Linked DNA regions of Homo sapiens: regions 1 and 2 are each linked to region 3. Evidence: promoter capture Hi-C in human tissues and cell types (Jung and others, 2019). All regions are on one chromosome and are shown on one strand. Each heading gives the region's core, a stretch centred on a gene start or on the middle of the fragment in contact. The rest is flanking DNA. Distances are from core to core; before and after follow the strand shown. Region 1 overlaps CDC14B (cell division cycle 14B). Region 2 overlaps CDC14B (cell division cycle 14B). Region 3 holds the start of CDC14B (cell division cycle 14B).

What was found. Contacts are between HindIII fragments. The study calls those that stand out against the background at their distance.
Region 1: a fragment that was not itself captured here is called in contact with the fragment with the promoter of CDC14B in region 3 in 3 of the 25 tissues and cell types used here (dorsolateral prefrontal cortex, neural progenitor cells and thymus).
Region 2: a fragment that was not itself captured here is called in contact with the fragment with the promoter of CDC14B in region 3 in 4 of the 25 tissues and cell types used here (IMR-90 fibroblasts, dorsolateral prefrontal cortex, hippocampus and 1 more).

What each region holds. Positions count from the first base shown.
Region 1 is chr9:96,548,599-96,552,835 of GRCh38, forward strand. CDC14B (cell division cycle 14B) reads right to left here. Exons shown (of 14, transcript NM_033331.4): 5 at 3,198-3,274. Among named protein-coding and RNA genes, the nearest start is that of CDC14B, 69 kb to the right of the region's middle. The HindIII fragment of the contact is 7,710 bases long and covers 1-4,237 here.
Region 2 is chr9:96,530,893-96,535,347 of GRCh38, forward strand. CDC14B (cell division cycle 14B) reads right to left here. Exons shown (of 14, transcript NM_033331.4): 8 at 3,563-3,650; 9 at 3,035-3,265. Among named protein-coding and RNA genes, the nearest start is that of HABP4, 83 kb to the left of the region's middle. The HindIII fragment of the contact is 6,580 bases long and covers 1-4,455 here.
Region 3 is chr9:96,617,285-96,622,128 of GRCh38, forward strand. CDC14B (cell division cycle 14B) reads right to left here and starts at 2,559. Exons shown (of 14, transcript NM_033331.4): 1 at 1,935-2,559. The coding sequence starts at 2,094. RefSeq lists an enhancer at 1,710-2,210. The HindIII fragment of the contact is 32,033 bases long and covers 1-4,844 here.

The sequences.
Region 1 (4,237 bases), core at 60-2,559, 70 kb before region 3:
TTCAGGCCAGGGGGTTGAGACCAGCCTGGGCAACTTAGTGAAACCCCATCTCTACTAAAAATACAAAAATTAGCCGGGCATGGTGGCATCTGCTCTAGAGGCTGAGACATGAGAATTCCCTGAACCTGGGAGGCAGAGGTTGCAGTGAGCCAAGATTGCGCCACTGAACTCCAGCCTGGGTGACAGAGCAAGAATCTGTCTTTAAAAAAAAAAAAAAGAGAGAGAGAGAATTCTATCTAAGTTGAATTAAATCTAATTAAATAAAACATTGCTACAGAACATAAAAGAACTTATTTGCTATAAATGAATGCCATTCTTGCACAACGTCGTGTTAGCAATACTTTGTTGGTCATATTTATTCTATGTACTTAAAGTGGCAAGATACAAAGAATATAATGTCATTTCTATCAAAATATTATCAGGCTTTATTAATTCTGATTGGACTACTTTCTAATTGATAAGTTCTATAGAACACTATGTGAAGAAGCACTAAATTTAAAAACTAAGTCTATCACAGGTTGACACTTTTGTAAGATAAATATGAAATGCAATAGTACTATACTATTACATATCCAGTAATGCAATAATCTTATTTTTGTGAATAAAATAAATTACTAGAAAAATGAAAGGGGAAAAAAAACAAAATACAAGCTCAAATTTCTTCTACTATTTGATTCTACAGACATAAAATTGCTCTATTCGATAACTATAAATGTTTCTAAAATCTTATTCTCAACTTCTGTATTTATCTCAACACAGGCTGGTAACAAAATGTCACAGATCGGCACCAGTTCACAGGCCACACTTTATGAAATCCCAGCACTTTGGGAGGCTGAGGCGGGCGGATCATGAGGTCAAGAGATCAAGACATCCTGGCCAACATGGTGAAACCCCATTCTCTACTAAAAATACAAAAATTAGCCAGGCGTGGTGGCACACGCCTGTAGTCCTAGCTACTCGGGAGGCTGAGGCAGAAGAATCGCTTGAACTTGGGAGGCAGAGGTTGCAGTGAGTCCAGATTGCACCACTGCACTCCAGCTTAGCGACAGAGCAAGACTCCGTCTAAAAAAAAAAAAAGAAAGAAACACTGTTTAGATAAATCAAATACCTAGTATCTACAATAGAAGAGATTCAAATTCCACAAAGCTGAATGGTTTCTAGCTAAGTCTTGCCTTTTGGAGAATTACTGACTGATGCTCCTGGGACCAAAAGGAACTAACTTCATTTCTCAGTGCCAAACTTTAATAATTTGAAACATAGCAAGGCAGTAAGCAATGCTTATTCTGTTTTTGGCACCTGTATTTAAATTAACTCAAAACGTCTTTTTTCACATCAACAGTGTTCCATGGATCCTTCATTGCACAGTGCGAAATGTGTGAGCATGTTCCTATTTCAGGACCTTGTGCTGTAAATCTAAGAGTGGCATCACAAAAGATTACCATTATAAAGAAGAGTTCTATAGAACAAATGTCACTACATCAAGAGATGACCAAGGTGCCTGTGACTCAAGACCAAAAATACAAGCATTTCTTTTAAAGGAAGAATGTGGTTGCTATTATGTTATAGGTTGAGAAGAATTTTCCAGCTTAGAAAATGATCTTTATTTCCCCCTCTTCCCTTCCTACCCACCTCAAATAAAAGAATACTTAAGATGAGCCATGAGCTAGCAGAAAGGGATGATACTGGGTTCAAGCCAATTCTAATTTGCTCAATCACAGATTTTCACAATTTTTCATGCAGCGTATTACTGAAGTCTTCAGACTGCCCTGACAAATTGTTATTTCATGGAGTAAGTCCACAGGCAGGCCTATAAAGTTATTTGAAAGGGAGATTCTGCCAATAATTAGAAATACCCATCCCAAGGCTCATCTACAATAAAGTCAGATTCACAAACTCCCTTTTTTAAAGTTAGGGCCATACATTCAAAATCAGGCATTTGTGGTTTATGTAACAATCCTAATACGATAAACTAACGAACTAATTAGTTTGAACAATGAACTAATAAGCAATAGTTATTATTAATTTGTGAATGGAAGAACAAGCAGTTTTTGAAAATATCAAAGTCTTCAATGAGTAAAATTATTTCATACATTTATTACCCATTAAGTACCATACAAGTATTTAAACTATAGAGCTAAGTCAAGTATTTTGATAAACGAGCAGAAAAATTTTTAGAACTTGATTTAAGCACTAGTCTTCTAGAAATATCTTCAACACAATCGCATGCTAAGTTTGAGATGATGTCATCCATTCCTGTAGACATCACTAACTACCACCTCTGGAACACAGTGACTTGACTGGTTTTTCTGGAAGTGGTACTGCATTAGCAACCTTATCGACTGTCTCTACTGACTGTGTCCCCAGAAAAAAGGGGTTCATTTTGGTCCCAGAAAGTAACTACTGATTATTGGGAACGTTTCTTAACTTCTCAGGAACCACACTCCTCAGTGGTAGTTTTGAGTACAATAACCCAGGATTCTCACCTGATACAAAGCCTAGGTTTTGGGGTTTGCTTTTTTTTTTTTTTTTTTTGAGACAAGTTATCTCTCTATTGCCCAGGCTTGAGTGCTGTGGTATGACCATAGCTCACTCACTGCACCCTCGAACTCCTAGGCTCAAACAATCCTCCAGCCTCAGTCTCCCAAGTAGCTGGGACTACAGGCATGTGCAACCACGCCTGGCTAATTTTTTTTAAAATTTTTTTATAGAGATGGGGTCTGTCTTTGTTGCCGAGGCTGGTCTGGAACTCCTGGGCTCACGCAATCATTCCACCTTGGCATTCCAATATGCTGGGATTACAGGCATGAGCCACTGTGCCCAGCCAAAGCTTAGTTTTCATCAATGGCAGTAGTTCTCAGCGTAGGGAGATTTTGCTCTCCATCCCCCAAGGTCACTTACAGGGATATATGGCAATGTCTGAAGACATTCTGAGTTTTGACAATTAGAGTGGGTGTGGGGATTTTACCAGCATCTAGTGGGCAGAAGCCACGGAGGCCACTAAACATGCTACGACGCACAAGATAGCCTCCATGACAAAACGTCAACAGTGTCACTGTGGAAAAACCCAGATCTGTGGTGTTATTTGCGCTCATCCTAAAATGACTATTTACCAGATCTTCTTTTTTCAGAAACAACTATCAAGATATTTCTGGCAAGGATCTGATTACCTGAATCTACCACATCATTCTTATATTTACCTGAAAGGAATATAGGATGTCTCTCCAAAGATTAATATTCTATATGCTTCTTCTGGGGTTCTCCCCAAATATATAACCTATGTTTGAAAAAAGAAGAAAAAGGCAATTTATTTCTAAGTGAAGATACAGTGCTGTCACTGCGAAGTAAATTTTGTCCAATTTCCAACCAACTGAGCAGGGTTCTCCAGCCTTCCCCAGGAGCCTAGGAATCACCCAGAATCCTGTCCATAGATTTCTTTTTTGTTTAAATCCTCCATTGCTGGTTTCTGTTGTTTGCAGTATAAGCCCTGACCAACAACTCTTCACAGCAACCTTTTGTGGTAAGAAGCACAGTATTTTAAAAACAGATTTTCCAAATCAAGACGTTAGACTGATCCCATGCTTTTACCTCCCCTCCTTCCTGAAAGTCCACTGAAATGACAGCTAAGCAGCGTGTAGGAGATGGGGATGGGGTTAGACTGGGGTGAGGTGGAAAGAGACACAAAGGCAGAACACAGACTGTGATTAACTCTGTCCATGTAGGTGTGAGGGCTTGCAATACTGAACAAGTTGATTATCAAACTGCACTTGTTTTCGACGCTCATTGACTTCTTTTGTCCTTAGAACTATGCTATGCTTTGACTTTAACCTGGGAGAATACCTCAAGTATATTCTTCAGCATTTGAGGTCTATAGTTGGTATTCCTTGCCTTTCCAAACATTTTTTTTTTCCCTTGACATTTTTTATTTGACTACTATGCGTAGGATTTTTGGTCTGCAGTCATTTCCTCTTGATAGTTTCTAGATAACGTTCTCATGTCTTCTCACTTCTAGTGTTACAGAAGTATTTTACTGATCTAAGTATCTCTGTCTGCTTCTTACAAGTAACCTGTTTGTTCTAGAAATCTGCAGTTTGAGACTTTCACCACCATCTCTCTAAGTAAGTCCTCTGCCTACCCCCTATTACATTTGCCTGGGACTTCAGAACCTTCCTGCAGGGCCCTTTCAACTAATGTACGGAAGGTTGGGGTTGGGGAGGCGGGAGCGGTGGGAAGGAGAAAC
Region 2 (4,455 bases), core at 1,334-3,833, 86 kb before region 3:
ACGCTTTTTGTGCAGAGATGATCGTATGGTTTTTGTCCTTAACGTGGTATATCACACTGATTGATTTTCATATGTTGAACCACTCTTGTAATCATGGGATAAATCCTACTTGGTCATGGCACACAATCCTTTTAAATATGCTGCTGAATTCCATTGGCTAGTATTTTGTTCAAGGTTTTCACATCGATGTTCGTAAGGGATACTGGCCTATAGTTAGTTATCTTATAGTGTCTTTTTGTTTTTGGTATCAGGGTAATGCTGACCTTATTGAGTTAGAAAGTGTTCCTTTTTCCTCAAATTTTCAGAAGAGTTTGAGAAGGACTGGTTTTAGTTTTTTAAGTGTTTGGTAGAATTTACTGGTGATGCTATCATGTCCAGGGTTTTGCTTTCTCAGGAGGTTTTGGATTACTTAATCTCCTTATTAGTTAGGGGTCTGTTCAGATTTTCTATTTCTTTATGATTTAGTTCTGGTGTTTTGTTTTTCTAGGAATTTGTCCATTTCATGTAGACTATCCAATTTGTTGTCCTACAATACTGATCATTTTTACGTACTGATCAGCTTTATTTCTGTAGTATCAGTGGTAATGCCATTTTCATTTCTAATTTTAGTAATTTGAGTCTTCTTCCTTTTATACTTCATCATTCTAGCTAAAGGTTTATCATTTTTGTTATTCTTCTTAAAGAACCAACCCTTGGTTTTGTTCATTTTCTCTATTGGTTTTCTACTCTCTATTTTATAAATTACAATAATATACTACTTGCAATTTTTGTATATAATAATACACAAAAATTATACTACTTGCAAACGACAAATTATTTTACAAATTACAATAATTTACATATTATAATATTTGCAAGTTACAATAACAAGTTACAGTAATAATATTTTACAAATTATCTTGTTACAATAAAACTAGCTTTTATAGTGGTCCTTGTATTTGCCTTTATCAGAAATCTTTATTTCCTCTTCTCAAATGGCTGTGTGTTACTGTCTAGTGTGCCTTCATTTCAACCTAAAAGACTCCCCCTTTAGAGTTTCTTGCAAGTCAGATCTAGTGATTAAAAACTCCCTTTTAAGTGTTTGGTAGAATTTACTGGCGATGTTATTATATCCAAGGTTTTGCTTTGTCAGGAGGCTTTGGACTACTTAATCCCCTTACTAGTTAGGGGTCTATTCAGATTTTCTATTTGTTTTTTGCAAGTTACAATATTTACAAGTTACAGTAATAATATTTTACAAATTATCTCGTTACGATAATACTAGCTTTTATAATGGTCCATGTATTTGCCTTTATCAGAAAGGCAAACTGATTGCCTGGGCAAAGTCTTAATTTTTCCATTATTTTTGAAGGAGTTTTGCCAGATGTAGAATTCTTAACAGGTTTTCCCTCACTTATGCATTTTGAATATATCAACCCACTGCCTTCTGGCCTGCAATGTTTCTGATGAGAGATCTGCTGACAATCTCAGTGGTATCCCCTGTATGTGGTAGGTCACTTCTCTCTTGCTGCTTTCAAGACTGTCTGTGGCATTATAGCTTGATTATAATGCATGTTCACATGGGCCTCTGAGTTTATCCTGCTTGGAGTTTGTTGAGCTTCTTGGATATTCCTGCATATATCAAATCTGGGGAGTTTTCAGCCAAATCATCTGTCTGCTCCTTTACTTCTCTTCTCCCTCTGGAACTCCCACGATCTGTATCTTGGTCTACTTGGGTGTGTCTCAGGGATCCCTTAAATTCTGTTCATTTATGTTATGCTCTTTATTCTTTCTGTTCCTCAGACTTGCTAATTCTTTAATGATTCTAGCTTCACACGCACTGATTCTTCTGCCTGCTCAAATATGCTTTTGAATCCCTCCAGTGAATTTTTCATCTCAGTTTTAGTACATTTCCAGAATTTCCTTTTGGTTCCCTTTTATGTGTTCTTTTTATAACTGATATTAGTATTTCTTCATAAATCGTTTCCTTGACTTTTCCCACATATTCTTTTAACTCTTGGGTATCTTTAAGATGGTTATTTAAAATTTTTTGCCTACTAAGTCCACAATTTGATCTTTCTCAGGGATAGCTTCTGTGGATTTATTTCTTCTTCTTTTTTTTGTTCTGTCTATTGGCCAGGCTGGAGTGCAGTGGCATGATCTCAGCTCATTGCAACCTCTGCCTTCCGGGTTCAAGTGATTTTTGTGCCTCAGCCTCCAAAGTAGCTGGGATTACAGGTATCCGTCACCACACCCAGCTAATTTTTTTGTATTTTTAGTAGAGACAGGGTTTCACTATTTTGGCCAGGCTGGTCTCAAACTCCTGACCTCAGGCGATCCGCCCGCCATGGCCTCCCAAAGTGCTGGGATTATAGGCGTGAGCCACCATGCCCGGCCTGGATTTATTTCTTCCCTTTGAATAGGCTATACTTTCCTGTTTCTTTGTATGCCATGTAATTTTTCAATAAAAACTGAAATGTGATGTTTTGCCATTATATTTAAAACTACAAATACAGCAGTAACTCTGGAGATCAGTCTCCCCCTTTCCCCAAGGCTTGCTGAGCTTTTTTTCCAATATTGGATTTTTGTAACAAAACTATATTTCTTGTTTCTTAATTAACTAACAAGAGAGTTAAATAAATCCTACTATCTTCATACCATTTATTATTGTATAGTCATTCATTTATTCAAAAAATATCTATTAAGTGCCAGGCACTGTTACAATTGCTGAAAACAGAGCAACTTGTTAAGAATATAGTTTCCATTAAGACAGGCTCTTACAGTCTACGCTACTCATTGATGTATCCTAGAATTATATAGGATGCACCCAATAAATATTTGATGAATAAATAAATGCATTTCAATGTGATGTATTTGTAGAATTACTTATGAAAATAAGTTACTATACTTTTCATCTGAAATCAAAGGTTTCACGGCACTCTAAAAATAAAGGCAGTTTCATGTTCTGACACATAAACTAAATGAATATGGTCTGTTTCTACATATTCATATACTCATACTGTATACTATTCTTTAACCACCCCTAGAAACATACCTTTGCAATGTACTGCAATGGCACCCTCAGCATTTTCACAGATATCTAGGAATTCTTTGACAATGGCATCAGTAGGGGTGCTGCCATCCGCAAAGAAAAGATCATGGTGATCGAAGCCAGCATCCGTAAAGCGTTTGGCATCATACATCCTTTTATTCAGACGAATAATGGTAGTAACATTGTGATTCTTAAAATATTGAATATAAGTCTCAGGAGAATGTTGGTGGTAACCTACATAAAGAAATGCACCAGATCTTATAAAACACATAAAGAAAACAATGGCTAATAGTTTCACCTGTAACTGAACGGAAACAGTATCTGGACTGGGAATTAAATACCAATTTGATTATAACTGTAAAAAACAAAAGAAAAGAAAGTTAAAATCCAGTCAGAATGATCTACTGAAGTGACCAAGTATGCTTAAATAATAATTAACACTTGGTCAAGCTTGGTGTAACTCTTTCAAAAGAAAATATAGGATAGATATTTTCAATAACAAAATGAGATTAATGCCATAATTTCACATACCACTTTCAAGTCTGGCTCTTGAATGAGGTCCACAGAAGGCAATAAATCGGTCTGGTATTATCCAATTTAAATCTCCATTTTCTGCTTTCTGCAAGGGGAAGACCAGCACAATTCGTTTTTAAATGTATTCTCCCCACAACCTCTCTACTCAAGACTGAGTCTCTGAAGGACTTCAAACTCATTTGCTTTAGCGGAAAAGCTGTTTACAAATTGCCATGAGACAGGAATCTCAATTTGCCCTGCTATAAGTATATCTAGGGAATGGACGTATATCCTGTTCCTAATCATCTTCTTTTAACAGTGTTTCATTGCTAGGGTATCAGCCCTTGGAATACAGAGCTGACTGCTGCCATACAAATATACTATTTGGTTATTTTATCTGAATCAATTCTCATTATAGTTGCTGCTAATTAATAAGAAAGCAAGCAAACTTTTCCAGTATAAGGAATCTGGGAACTTCCCTGTTTTCCTGAATGACTAACTGGCTTCCAACATGAGCAATCTTGACTCCACGAATAAAGGGGGAAAAACTATCTACTTAGGTTTCTGGCTTCCCAATATTTACTTACTTACCTACTTACAGAGATATATCTTTCCACTATCTTCCTAACTATTTAATAAGGCAACCAATTTAAAAAGTTCATTTGTTCGTGATCAGCCTGACCAACATGGAGAAATCCTGCCTCTACTAAAAACTACAAAATTAGCCAGGCATGGTGGCGCATGCCTGTAATCCCAGCTACTCGGGAGGCTGAGGCAGGAGAATTGCTTGAACCCAGGAGGCGGAAGTTGTAGTGAGCCGAGATTGTGCCATTGCACTCCAGCCTGGGCAACAAGAGCGAAACTCTGTCTCAAAAAACAAAAATTAAAAAAATAAATAAATAAATGCACTG
Region 3 (4,844 bases), core at 1,309-3,808:
CTGCCTCACGAAGACTAGCCACATATTTCATCTCCATCAAGAAGAAAGATTTATTCCAATGACTTTGCTGTCACAAACCTTCTGATTGAAAACCCAAATGTTCATCAACAGGGACTGTCTAAATAGGTTAAAAAACATTCAAATCTACATAAACATTTAAATCCATACGTACTTGTTAATGGTTTTATTCATAAAACCGTATGTACATTGGCCTAAGCAGTAATTAAAATCAAGTAAGCCAGTCTTATATGCACCAACTCAGAACAATCATTCTAATAAGAAACACTATGAAAACGGAAAAATGTGCAAAACAACATGTGTGCTACTCGCACGTGTATGGTAGAGAATATATAGTATATATAGTATGCATGCACAGCCTATTTCTAGAAGGCTTCACAAGAAACTGGGAAGAGTAGTTGCCTCTAGAGAAGGACACTTGGAGACTGTGAGACCAACTTTTCTGCACGTACTCCTGTGCACCTTTAGAATTGGAGTTCTGTACCATGTAAATGCATTACTTGTCCTAAAATTAAATCCCATTCAACACAGATCCTTTCAAGAGGTATAAACAATAACGGGCAGAAACTATGTATAGGCCCACCCGTTCCCAGCCCCATCCGTCCTCGGCGAGGCCCTCTCCTGGGAAGGGCACAACGTTAGCGGGACTTGGCTTCTCAGTCTCAGCAGGCTTCACCTCCCGCACACCCCCCGCAGCTACCGGCCGGGGACTGGTACTCAGGGCAACCCCTTCCTATGCCCGCTCTGGTTCCCAAGGGCCATCCACCAAAGCCGAGAAACCCGCTCTGCTCTCAGCTTCATTTCAAAACGAACTTAGTTTCCAGATTGTCCATGAACCTAGAATATTATTTCTCCTAAACGTCTGTGTTTGTCTAAACACTTCCACTTAATGTTCTCGCCACTCCAGCTTACCTGGTTTATCAAAGGCTAGGGGCTGGAAACAGTTTTTAATAACGCCACGCACCGAGGTTGACACATTCCCCGCCACTGAAAACAGACTGCCAATTCCCTCAAAATCGTGGACAGCTCTGCTGTTTACACAGCGTTGCCACATACATCATCACATTTAATGCCTTCACACGCGTCACTGTCAATCCCAGCAAACCTAACAGCTGCCAAATTGGATTTATGAGTCTCCAAGAACAGTCGAATCAGCACTAACAGAACAGCTATCGAAGGGCTGCTTGGCTACCTGCTCTGGCTGGCTGGGATTTCTCAAAAGTGACAACCCGGACATTCGTCTTGCCGGCTGGCTCGAATGCCACCAACGTGACACCTTCCTTCTCGAGGCCCCGGCGGGGAGCGGACCCCGGGAGGCGGAGGCGTTCGGGGGGCGCGCTAGGGGGCAGGGCGCGGGAGGCCCAGGAGAGGGGCTCGGGCTTACGCGCCGGACGGGCAACGCGGCGCCCAGGGTCCCAAGGCTACGGAGCAGCGGGGGTTTGGCCAACGCCAAAAAGGGGCAGCTCCCGTGCCAGGCGCGTTCAGCGCGCTCGGGGAATCCTCAGGGGCTGATTCAGAGGTTGTGACTCGCGCGAGGGCCAACCGGGCTCGCAATCCCTGAAGGCGGAATCCACAGGAACTCAGAAGCAGCCCGCGGGGAGGAGCTGCAGGTTCGAGGCGCCGGGCTGACGCCCGCAACTTAGAAAGGTGACCCTCGGTCCATCTTGCTGGTGGAGGAGGGTGCACAAGCTAAAGTTAAAGCTCGCAGCCCACGCAGCTAGAAACTCGGGGCGGGGGGCGCTCCTCAGGAGCCAGGCTCCTAAAGGGGGTGTGGCGGCCGGGGCGTTTAAGGGGGTGGGGGCGAAGGCATTTCGGCCCGGCCCCGGAGGCCCCGGGCAGCCCGGTGGGAGGTGGGCCAGGGCCCCGCGCCGGGTGCGGCCGTCCGGGGCCCTCCGCGCGCCCACTGGCCGGCTCACCGGTGATGTCCAGGTACACGTCGTCCTGGGGGTCCCGGCGGCGCGGGTCTTGCTGCGTGGAGCTGCGGATCTTCTTCACACCCGGCGAGGTCGACGAGCAGCGCCGCGAGCAGGGGGGCGCGGCGGCCCAGCTCGACCGCCGCTCGCTTTTCCGCTTCATGGAGGCGGCCGCGGCCCGTCAGGGGGCCACGACCATGGCCCCGCGCGCCCGCGCGCCCGCCGAGGCTCCCGCCAGCCCCGCGCGGGCGCTCGGGGCGGCGGGCGCAGAGCGGCGCTGCGGGGACGGCGGGCGCCGGCAGAGCCCGGCGGGAGGCGGTCGCGCAGGAGCCGGAGGAGGAGCCCGGCCCACAGCGCCTGCCCCGCTGCCTCCCGCGGCCGCCGCAGGACCGGCGCCGCAGCCCTCGCTACAGCGCCTCCTGCCGCGGCCGGCGCCCCCAGCCCGCCCCCAGGTGCCCGCAGCCGGCTGGCGCGGCCGAGGCGACGGGGCTGCAGCTGGCGGCCGGAGCTGCCCGGGGTAACCGTGCGTGCCCACCGCGGCCGCGGCCGCTGCTGCGTAGGCGCCGGGGCACAGCAGGACGCGGCTCGTGGGGACCCCAGGAGGGCTGTTCCGTGGCGCTTCATTCACAAAAAAGGGCCCACAACCCTCCTCGGGGCCCGCAGACTGAGGCCTTTCATTGGCCAATGCGGCGTGACGTCACGGAGACGGGGCCTTTCTACAGGCAGGTACTCGGTGACGCCATAAAGAAAACTCTGAGGGCTTCCGCCAATCAGAGATAAAGTGTGCTAGCGACCTTCGCCAGCCCCCCAACTTTTGTTTCTTCTGTGTCCTCCAGGTGCCAGCACCCCAGATCCCAACTTTCTTTAGTGAGTCACCAAACATTTACACAGCCCCACCCTAGTAACTTAACTCCAGGTCTTTGGCATATATATATCTTAAAGTATTTCTTGAATTTCCTTGTAATTCGCGCCAAGAGAAAGGGACTTTTGCCATGGCTGCCAGCTTGGAAGAGGATGGCCTGATTACATTACCTGCAGCTATATAGATTTAAAGTAGAGTTGATTTCAGAACTTAAGTAAAACTATTTAAACAACTACGCTCTATTTATCGACCTATGCCCAGCATTCAAACAGGCCAAGCAAGGGCTTCTTAAGGACCCGATGAAACTTCCGTGGAACCACAATATACCGTGGTTGTTTGCACCTCAGAGTTTCTCATCTCGGAATCCAGCGCCCACATTAATTCAGTAAGTTTATACACTCATTGCTGTGTATACTGAGGTGTCGACAGGTCCGATTATATCATGAAGTATTGAAGCAAGGGGCAAGTTTTGTCCTTAAACTTCTTTATCTGGCACACTGTAGGGTCATATCCTCTTCTTTTTCTACTGGATTAAAATAATGCCCTATCTTCCTGGAACTTAACCAAAAACTGTCATTTTGGAGGGCCTTTAAACAAACGTCCATGGTAGCATCTAAAAGGGTGAGAAGATTGGAGGGCAGTGTTAAGATTTCACGGCCCCAAATTTTACAACATCTGCAAGCTGTCCCTATTTTTCACCAGCACTTGAACGTTTTATCCTGCAGTTCCGCAGTTAACTGCCAGCCTGGGGAAAAGAAAGATGAATTTGAGTCAGTCCCCTTGGAAGCCTCTCAGAAATGCAAATTTTCATAGAGCACCTCAGGAAGGGGCTCTTTGACTTCTATTGTTGTGGGCTTTTACCTTAAGCACGGCTAAATAAGGAAGTAGGGGGGCTGTGTCTGAAGCTAGAGATCAGCAACTCTGTAAGCACTTTTTCTTAAGGTTGGTTCTCCTGTTCACTCTTCCTCTGTTTCCCCTAAGGAAATCAGTGAAGGCCTTAAATTTAAAATGATCTACATGTCTGTCTGTAGGGGCAGCAAAGAAGCTAGAGACGTGGGAGGCTGTGCGGCGCTGCGCAAGTAAGTTTTAGAGAGCAGAAACGGTAGGGTCACAGTCCTTTGTTTTGACCTGGAGGAGGAGGAGGAGACCTTTCAGACCGGCCTAGGGGCTCAGCATTGGAAAGCCACCCAGTTTCCCAGACTACCAGGGATTTTAAATGAGTGGGTCTTGTTTTGAATAGATATTACAGGAGAGTGGTCCGTGTGGCTCCCTGGAAGTACAGAGAAACTACCTCCATGACATTATGATCTTTTGAGAGTAATTTGTTTAAATGTCAGGAGGCAGAGGTTGCAGTGAGCCGAGATCGTGCCATTGCACTCCAGCCTGGGTGACAGAGCTAGACTCCGTCTCAGAAAAAAAAAAAAAAAAGTGTCATAAATACAGATAATTATACCATTTAAATATTTTCATACTTTGCAAGTATATAATTTTATGCTTTGTATAGTAGGAACAGACAAAGTATAGGACTACACTTTGTAATTACGCGAAAGTATCTTCCCTTCTTGTGAATAGGAAGTCTGTGTGCTGAGTATACACATTAAAGTTTTAAACCCTATTTATATTTTGTTTTTAGGTCATGTTTAGATAGAGGCAGAAAAGTGCTGTTTCCTAGCTGATACTTGTTTTGTGTGTGTGGCACTGCTCTTGAACTGTTTGACTCCTCCCCCTCTTTGATAAGTTGACTCCTGGGCTCTGAGAATTTGGCCACAGGAAATGTATTTTAGTTTGCTTCCCTGGTTAGTTTGTTGTTCATTGCTTGACGACTCATCATAGAATTTTAGAGCTTGAAAGCTCCTTAGACAATATTTGGTCCAAGGCTATCCTTTCACAGTGAGGACACGGGGACCCAGATGAGTGGCAGTGGCCAGGCTGGGGTGGGAACCAAAACTCTCTAGGATCTGGCTTGTCTTTTCCTGAACTGTGGCGCTTAGGGAACAGATGCGTCTGGTTGATTCTCAACATTATGGCAGCACAATGAAAAGGAAAAAAAA